Linked DNA regions of Homo sapiens: all the other regions are linked to region 2. The links are contacts of gene promoters, found by promoter capture Hi-C in blood cells and fetal thymus (Javierre and others, 2016). All regions are on one chromosome and are shown on one strand. The core of a region is centred on a gene start or on the middle of the fragment in contact, and the rest is flanking DNA. Distances in the headings are between cores, read along the strand shown.

What was found. Contacts are between HindIII fragments. The CHiCAGO score rates a contact against its expected background, and 5 or more counts as called.
Region 1: a fragment that was not itself captured here is called in contact with the fragment with the promoter of MPPE1 in region 2 in 1 of 17 cell types (erythroblasts); the score reaches 5.5 in erythroblasts.
Region 3: the fragment with the promoter of CIDEA here is called in contact with the fragment with the promoter of MPPE1 in region 2 in 2 of 17 cell types (endothelial precursors and M0 macrophages); the score reaches 6.0 in endothelial precursors.

The regions. Positions count from the first base shown.
Region 1 is chr18:12,305,249-12,307,961 of GRCh38, reverse strand. It overlaps a transcript of TUBB6 not described here. Among named protein-coding and RNA genes, the nearest start is that of TUBB6, 1.6 kb to the left of the region's middle. RefSeq lists a silencer at 1-235. The HindIII fragment of the contact is 285 bases long and covers 1,288-1,572 here.
Region 2 is chr18:11,906,890-11,909,597 of GRCh38, reverse strand. It overlaps MPPE1 (metallophosphoesterase 1), which reads left to right and starts at 1,281. Exons shown (of 11, transcript NM_023075.6): 1 at 1,281-1,397. RefSeq lists a silencer at 489-888. The HindIII fragment of the contact is 5,797 bases long and covers 1-2,708 here.
Region 3 is chr18:12,252,915-12,255,614 of GRCh38, reverse strand. CIDEA (cell death inducing DFFA like effector a) reads right to left here and starts at 1,254. Exons shown (of 5, transcript NM_001279.4): 1 at 1,194-1,254. The coding sequence starts at 1,231. It overlaps LOC105371996 (a long non-coding RNA gene), which reads right to left and starts at 602. Exons shown (of 2, transcript XR_935158.3): 1 at 184-602; 2 at 1-36. RefSeq lists an enhancer at 1,512-2,118. The HindIII fragment of the contact is 8,350 bases long and covers 809-2,700 here.

The DNA.
Region 1 (2,713 bases), core at 181-2,680, 400 kb before region 2:
ACGCGAGTCGGGCCCTGGCGTCGGGGCAGCGGAGCCGACGTGGCCCGCGGGGTCCCAGCGCCGCGCCCGGGAGCATTGCAGCCGCCCGCGCCCAGTCCAGCCAAGCCGGGACACTGCCCTGGGGTTCGGCGGTGGAGCTTTTCAGGGTCTCTGCCCCCTGCCCCCCACCCCCCGGTCGCACCCCGGGCACACGTTCTTAGGGCCTCTTCGTCCTGGTGTTTCCGTCTCCGGAGATACAGAGGCCATTCCTCTCCGACGACTCCCACCCCTTTGGAACCGGGTTTAGCTAAAGTGACTACAGGGCTGGATCCGAAAATGAACACCTCCTGCGCCGGGTCTATGCAGCCTACTCCTCGCGCGTTAGCGAAGAAATGCGCTTCGGCCTGGGAGGGCGCGCCAGAGTCCGTCTTCCTGGCCAGTTTTGTGTGGTGGAAAGGAATGACTGCTGATGCCGGCCGGGTGACTTGGATTTTAATTCTAGCTGTTTTCAGTTAGCTCTGCGCTTCAGCGGACTCCTCTGTTAACGGAAAAGGTTATCCTAGGGGAGCCTTTCAGCCTCCAAAATGCGGGATGCTCTGGCCTCTGCAGTCAGAATGTGCATGCATCAGGGCTTTTGCGGAAGTTTCCTCACGTGAACGCTGCAGGCTGGGACCACCGGGGTAGCCTCTGCGTCCCCTCCCAGGCCCGTAGAAACGCCGCACATGAGGAAGCGACGATGTTCTGTAATTTGCACTGGCACTTTCTTTTTAGACAGATGAAAACTTTGGGAAATTCCTAATTGTGTGTGTGCATGTTTGTACGTTTGGAAGGGAGTGGAGAACTTTTAAAAGTTTTTCTTCTGGAGTTTTGCAAATGTTTCCAAATTGAGGAATTTTTTTTTTTAACCCTTGGGTCCCCGCCTCCCCACTGCTCTCTCCACCCCAGTGCTGCTCCTCGGCCTTCTTGTGGGTCCCCACACCTCTTTACACAGCCACACGCCCAGGGAGCAGATGAGGAGGCCACAGCCCAGCCCCTGCGCTCCCATTTCAAACTATGAGCCTGAGATTAATCAGCCACCTTCTCCTGAGTCCTCAACACCCTTATTTAGGCTGTTTGTTTCCATTGCTTAATTATTGACTCCAACGAGTGCTACCTTAACCCATCCTGCCGGCCCGAAGTCTAGTGTGGGGAGCCCGAGAGCGGAGGGCCTGTGCCATCCCTGGAAGAACCCTTCCTCCAGCTTTAGTCTCTCTCTCTAAGAAATCCAGCCATCAAGTGGTTTAAAAGAAAGTGTCTACTTTAGAAGCTTTGGTCGTTTGCTGAAATAGCCACCCTTTCAGTGCTAGCCCTTGGGCTGGAATTTAAGTCCAGGGGTCTGATCGAGCCAGAAAGTAGGTGTCAGCGTGGCTTCCGGAAGTCCGTTGTCACTTGGATTTGACAAGGGACAAGCCGACCTGCTGGTTTCTGGGCTCCTGCTCGCTGTGCGCTCTGCGCTGTCTGCAGGGATTGGTGCCCGCGGAGTGCGCTTTGTCTGGAGAAACTCAGTGCTCGAAGAGTGAGGAGACCGGGAGGAAACCTTCCCCCTGCAAAGCTTATCTCCCTTCCCTCTCATCAGAGGCGGGGCCCCGCAAGACACAAGGGATTTCCCCGCAGAATGAACCAAGGCCTCCCCAGGACATGGGGACAGTTCTGCTGTGCAAAGCCTGAATTCACGTTTCTTTCCTAAAGTGGCTCCCAGTCTCTCTGCAGCCTTGGCCTCTCTTTGAATCCCAACCCTGACTTCCCTGGTGTCTGTTGGCCACTCCCTTCTGGGAGCCGGCAGGTGAAACCCTGACCTGTGAGCCCGGCCTGGGGCTCTCCAGGCTCTGGGCCCCCTACCCTCCCGATCTGTGGCCCTCACTCCTCCTGGGCGAGGCTGTTTGTGACGCGGTGTGTCCAAATGCACACAAGCCGCAAACCAAACTTAAAAAAGCGTAGAGGACACATTCTCTTCTCCTACCTTAAAAAATACACCATGGTATCTGGAAAGCCAGGTTCCAGTTTAGAATTCTCAGGCTAGGCCGGGCACAGTGGTTCACGCCTGTAATCCCAAAACTTCCAAAGCTGACATGGCAGGATTGCTTGAGCCCAGGACCTCGAGACCAGCCTGGGCATTATAGTGAGACCCTTGTCTCTACAAAAAGTTAAAAAATTAGCCAGGCATGGTGGTACATGCCTGTACCCAGCTACTCCAGAGTCTGAGGTGGGAGGATTGATTGCTTGAACCTGGGAGGTGGAGGTTGCTGTGAGCTGTGATCATGTCACTGCACTCCAGCCAGGGTGACAGAGTGAGACCGCGTCTCAATAAAAATAAAATAAAATAAAATAAAAAAGAAATCGGTAGACTTCTTGGGCTCCTCGTTGATTTGCATCAGGGCGTGGAAGTGCGGGGGCTGGTCTCAGCCTGCAGTCCTCACTTTCAACACCCGCCTTTCTCCCCACCTCCAATTCTGTCCCACGCCGAGATGGGTCTCCAGTACATGCCTGTGGACACTTCAGTCCTCAGCCACTCACAGCCATCCCAGGCCACCCTGCGGGAAGAAGGGGCCCTAGGAGTAGGTTTGGGGAGGTCTGGGCAGGGACTCCTGAGGTCCGGGGGGCTGAGGTGCCATCTAGGAGCTGTGGGCTCATCCCAGTGGCCCTGTAGGGAGGGGGCAGGCAAGGACAAGGCCCCTCACCTGGGTCGAAGGCAGTG
Region 2 (2,708 bases), core at 32-2,531:
AGTTTCGATTATGTCAAAGTTGTTCACCTGATCATATCTGAAGATATTACAATATTCTTAATAATAATAACCATTTACCGCATACTTATTGTATACCAGGCATTTTGCTGGCTGTGTCCTATATAATTCCTCAAACCACATCTCCGTGTATTAACCACACTCATAGATTTGTGAAAATGTACCAGAATTGACTGGTTGGAAGGCTCTATGTGGATTATTACTCTGAGCATGTTTACTTCTTGAAATATGAAATAATGGCTCCTGCTTTTAATATACAGGCTTATTTTGAGGATTTTTTGAACGGATGTGAGAGCACTTAGAAAACTGGAACGCGCCGCGCTACACCATTAAAATTAGTAACATCAGTGAGAAAAAAGCAAGTGCATAATAAATATTATAGTTATCCTGATTGTCTCCTTTATTCATCACACACTTCCTAAGCACATCTCTGGAGGGCACTTTCCAAGGCTCCGGGGGAGGAGAGGAAAGAGGCGCAGCCAGGCCTGGTGGGTCCCGGAGGGGCAGCGCGGCGCGGGAGGGGAACGGGGAGGCACGGCCTGGCTGCCACCGCGCGCGGAACCCGGGAGCGGCTCCGGGGCTGTCAGCTGCCCGCCTGGCTCCTCCAAGGCCTGGAGCTCGGACGCGGGCTCTGGGGGCTTCTGGGGCGCGGAAGCGGGCTCGCGGGGAGCAGTGGCCGCCCCCGGCCGCCGCGGTGGCTGTGCTCAGAAGCCGGCCCTGGCGTCAGGAGGCCGGGCGCGCGGCGCGGGGCGCGAGTTCCCCTGCCCGCCTGTGCGCCCCGCAACGGGCCTTTCCTGGGCCCTAACGACAGCTCGCCCGTGCTTCGCCCTCGCAGCTCTCCTGTGTCCCCAAAATGCCTTTCCCGCGTCCCCCGCCCTTCAGCGGTGACTGCCCAGGGGACTCTGTAACGCGACACTCAGACTGCCGAGCCTGCCAGGCACTTCGCGGAGGGCGCTAGGGGCCGGGACGCGGCCGCCGAGCGTAGGTTCCGGCCTTTACTCCGAGTTGCGCACGGAGCCCCAGCTGCGGTTGTCCGCTCTGGGGATCACAGGCCGCGGAGACCCGGGAGCCACCCGCCGGGCCCCTTCAGACGACCCGCTTCCGCAAACCGGCCGTGGGACTCCGGCGCCGGGCGGACGAAGCGGCTCCGGGAAGACTCGGTCTTCCCCGCCCGCCTGAGGTCGCCGGGGCGGGGCTTCAGTGACAGGCCCGCGCGCTACCGCGGAAACAGGAAGTTGGCTGGGTGCGCGCCGGCTCCGGCTGCAGTTCCCGGGTCCCTCGGCCACCGAAGCCACCCTGCCCTGGTGAAAGGGCTCCCGCACCGCCCGGTGCTCCCCATCTGCCTGGCGTTGTGCGCAGAGCTGGAAAGCATGGCTGTTGTATGTATTCTTGCGCCCGTGTGACAACATTTAAACTTCTAAAAACGGAACCTCCTTCCGTGTTAGGATTGCAAGTTAACCTAGGAAAAACAGCATTCTGCAAATTATTTGCTGGAAAATCTCGGTGACTTAAGGCCCATGTATTACTTTGCAGGGGTCTCTCACTCTAGTTTGCTGGTGTAGATTTTTTAAAAAATCCATCTTATCAAAAAATACCGTTTAAGGTGGAAAATTTCAAATGCAAGTCGCAGTTGATGAGATTGCAATTAATATATTTAAGATAGTGAATTAGAGAAAAACTACAGGTCAGTGCATATTAAGTATTTTTTTCATATTTTGGGGGGATTAGATTTTTAACGATAACTTTGAAGTTAAAAATTAAAAGATAGGCTGGGTGCCGTTGCTTAGGCCTGTAATTCCAGCACTCTGGGACGCTGAAGTGGGAGGATGGCTTGATCCCAGAGATGCGAGACCAGCCTGGGCAACATAGCAAGTCCCCCGCCCCCACCATAACAACAAAAGTACCAAAAAAAAAAAAAAAAAAAGCCAGGTGTAGTGGCACGCACCTGAAGTCCCTGCTACTCGAGAAGTTGTGGGGGAAAGGATCGCTTCAGCGCAGGAGTTTGGGGCTGCAGCGAGCTGTGACGCAGCCTGCGGTTGACAAAAAGTCAAAACTCTATAAAATATTTGAAGGGATTAATTCTGAGCCAAATATGAGTGACCATGGCTGGTGACACAGCCATTTGGAGACCCTGAGAACGCGTACGCAAGGTGGTCGGGGCCCAGTGTGGTTTTATGCATTTTAGGGGAGCCATGAGTCATCAGTCAAATACATGTAAGATTAAGATGTACATTGGTTCGGTCCATAAAGGTATGACAGCTGAGGAGGTGGGTGGGTCGGGGGTTTCCGGGTTATAGGTAGATTGAAAATTTTCTGATTGGCATTTGGTTGAAAGATTTATTATCAATGGAAAGGAATGTTTGGGTTACAATAAGAGGCTGTGGAGACTGAAGTTTTATCATGCAGATGAAGCCTCCAGGTAAGTTAAGTGTCCAGCATGTTAAATGCTGGTCTGCTTTTCCTGAATTCTAAAAGGGAGGAGGATGAAATGTGTCAAGTTCCACCCCCACTTCCCATCATGGCCTAAACAAGTTTTGCTTAAAACAACCTAAAACAAGGTTAACTCTGGAATGCCCTTGGTGGGGTCCATGCAGATGGTTGAGGGGTCTTAGGATTTCATTTTTGATTTACAATGGGCGGTGGAGTGAGACCCTATCTCTAAAAATAAATAAATAAATAAATACAAATTG
Region 3 (2,700 bases), core at 5-2,504, 350 kb before region 2:
TCCCCTCCTGGAAGTGGGACTGTGGTGTGGATGGTTCTGGAAGAACGCAAAAGATACAGGGCCCTGACCTTTAGGCCTAAGCGTGTTAATGACCATACACGAAGCAGGTGTTTCTCAGCGTCCCCCTGCCACCGCCCCGACTTGTACTGTGGGCTTATTTTTAAAGAGAAAGATGCTTCTAACCTGCAGTGTCTACAACAGCTCCCATTTAAGAACCCGGGATTGGAAGCTCATAGATTGCGTTTCGTAGCCGGACCGCTCCCTTTCACACATGTAGTCTCTCTGCCCGCCACACGTAGCACACACAGTGGGACCCGGCGCCGCTGAACGCCTGCACCTTCAAGCCCGCAAATGGTTCTCTATCCTTTTCCAGGTACTTGATCTTCAGAGAAACACGATCTCCCTCTTAGACCTTACTTTACAGTTGCTGCCACGCAATGACTTAGGATTTTACCAAGAATTGGCTTGGGTCTGTTGGGATATGAATATTAACCCAAGCAGGAAAATAGCCAATGCTGCCTGTTCGACCACGAGCGGGTGCGAAGCGCAGGGAAGACTCCTCAGGGTCCACCCGCCCCTTGTCCCCCCTGCTCCCCAGGCAGCGTCTCCGCCCTTGGACCCGGAGGCAAGGAGGAGCGCTTCTCCCAGCACCACCAACCTGGAGGGCTCCGCCGGACGGTTGGGGCCTCCCCTCGGAGACCAGAGCCCGCGCTTCCAGGAGGGGCCAAGCCTGGGCCCCTCCCGCGCCCAGCTCCCGTTGTGATTTCCAGGACCCCCAGAAGCCCGGTCCCCTCGCATCGCGGAAGCTTTGCTCGGGGTTCCTGGGACCGGACCCTCTTCTGCGCCCGCGACTGCAGCAGCGGCCAGAGATGCATGCAGCCACTCGCCAGCTGTCACCTGGTTTGCAGACGCCCGCGCACCTCGCAAGAGCCACACCTGGTACCTGTGCCCAGCTGCAAGAGGGTGAGGAGGCGCGGGACGGGATTGGGCTCTGCCCGCGGGCGCGGCTGGACGGCTTGGGCACCAGTGGGGCGGATGGGTGTGTGCGCGGGGTCGCGGAGCGCAAGAGAATGCGGGGAGCAGGGGGCTGAAGGGAGCGGGGTACGGTACTAGAGGCGCACAGGGGAATATGAGGCCACCGAACGCAAGGCGATTGGAAGCGCACGGCAATCAGGGGGACGCGGGGCACTCGCCTGATGAGGGCTCCTGCATAGTCCCGGGCGGCCTCCATGGCGCGGATCCCCTAGCGGGCCTGGAGGTCTGTCTGCCTGCACAGCCTCTTAAAGTGCGGCGGCCCCGCCCCCGCCCGCCTGCCAGCCCCGCGAAGGCCTGACTGGCGCAGGGGAGGACGTTTTGGCACGAGCTCTCCACCGCCGAGGATCGCGACTTCGCGCTCTGGGAGCCCCCGGTCGTCCTGGCTCCCGCAGCCTGGAGCCGCGCGTCCTTCGCTGCCTTGGGCCGTACCGAGGACCTTGGAAGCCCAGATGCTCCCCGGGTCTCTTTTGGTCACTTGCCAGCCTGTTCGTTTTGCACTTCTGGGGGTCGGGGCAGTTGGGGTCATAACCAATCCTGGCAGCATCACTTTGGCCGCGGAAAGACGGGTATGTGGATTTTAAACCCAGGCCACGGGTGGGGCAGGTGAGGAGACGGATGTGAGCGCCACTTGCCTCCAGCTCTGGAGTCCCCCAGAGCCCAGCCCCAGGCTCAGCGAGCCGCTGGTTCCCTGCAGGGATGCGGAAGCTGCCGCAGACACCGGGACCTGCAGCCCTTCAGGTTCTCCGAGGCGCCTGGGCTTCCTGCCCGCTGCGCTGCTCTCAAGGCCATGTCATGAGCATTTGGGGACAGTGAGAAGGGCATGCAGAACGGGAGGGGAAAGGAGCCTTTGGACTGCATGAATTGCCTTTTAGCTGTAGTAAGGGACCCTCGCAGAGTGAGGAGGCAAAGAGTGAACCCCGCTGGGGCTGGGGGACTTCCGTCCACACCCTGCTCTCATGGTTGTTCCCATCGGAAGACGCAATTAGGGCCTCTGAGACCTCCGAGGAAGGCGGGCAGTTACAAGGGGTTCCCAGAACCCCTCACTACAGGACTGAAGAGGTGGGCTCAGTGTTGAGGGGTGGGACTCGGGCAGTAAGAGGTGTAACTTTCTGGGATGGAGGCTTGCTAGGATATCCTCTCGTGCCCAACTGCTGACTGCCGCCTGGAAACAGCGTTTCGGGAGCTGCAGCGGGACCCTCGCCGGCTCCTCCTGAGCCCACCTGGTTTGAGCAGACTGACCTGATCTCTTAAGACCTGACCCTATGCCCGCCCTCTTCCTCCGCTGGCTCTCAGAAAGGGTCACCGTGGTCAACAAGCCTTGTGACTTGCAGGACTGTTGAAGCCAAAGGCAATTGCCTTCCAGAGTCAAGGACTCCGCCTGCTGGGAACACCCAGCTCCAGGCTCACAGGGGGCAGCTTCCCCCAGAGGCACTGAGCGGACACAGCTTTAGGAGGTCATTCACTGCCCCTCCCACTCACAGCCCCAATGTGATGGATGAGAAAATGGGTCCAATCAATTCAGGTCAACTTACCTCTAACCTTTTTATTGTGAAAAAGTTCAAATATAGAGATACATAGAAAGAACAGGGCTGAGGGTACTGGCTTACATCTGTAATCCCAGTACTTTGGGAGGCCAAAACAGGAGGATGGCTTGAAGCCAGGAAT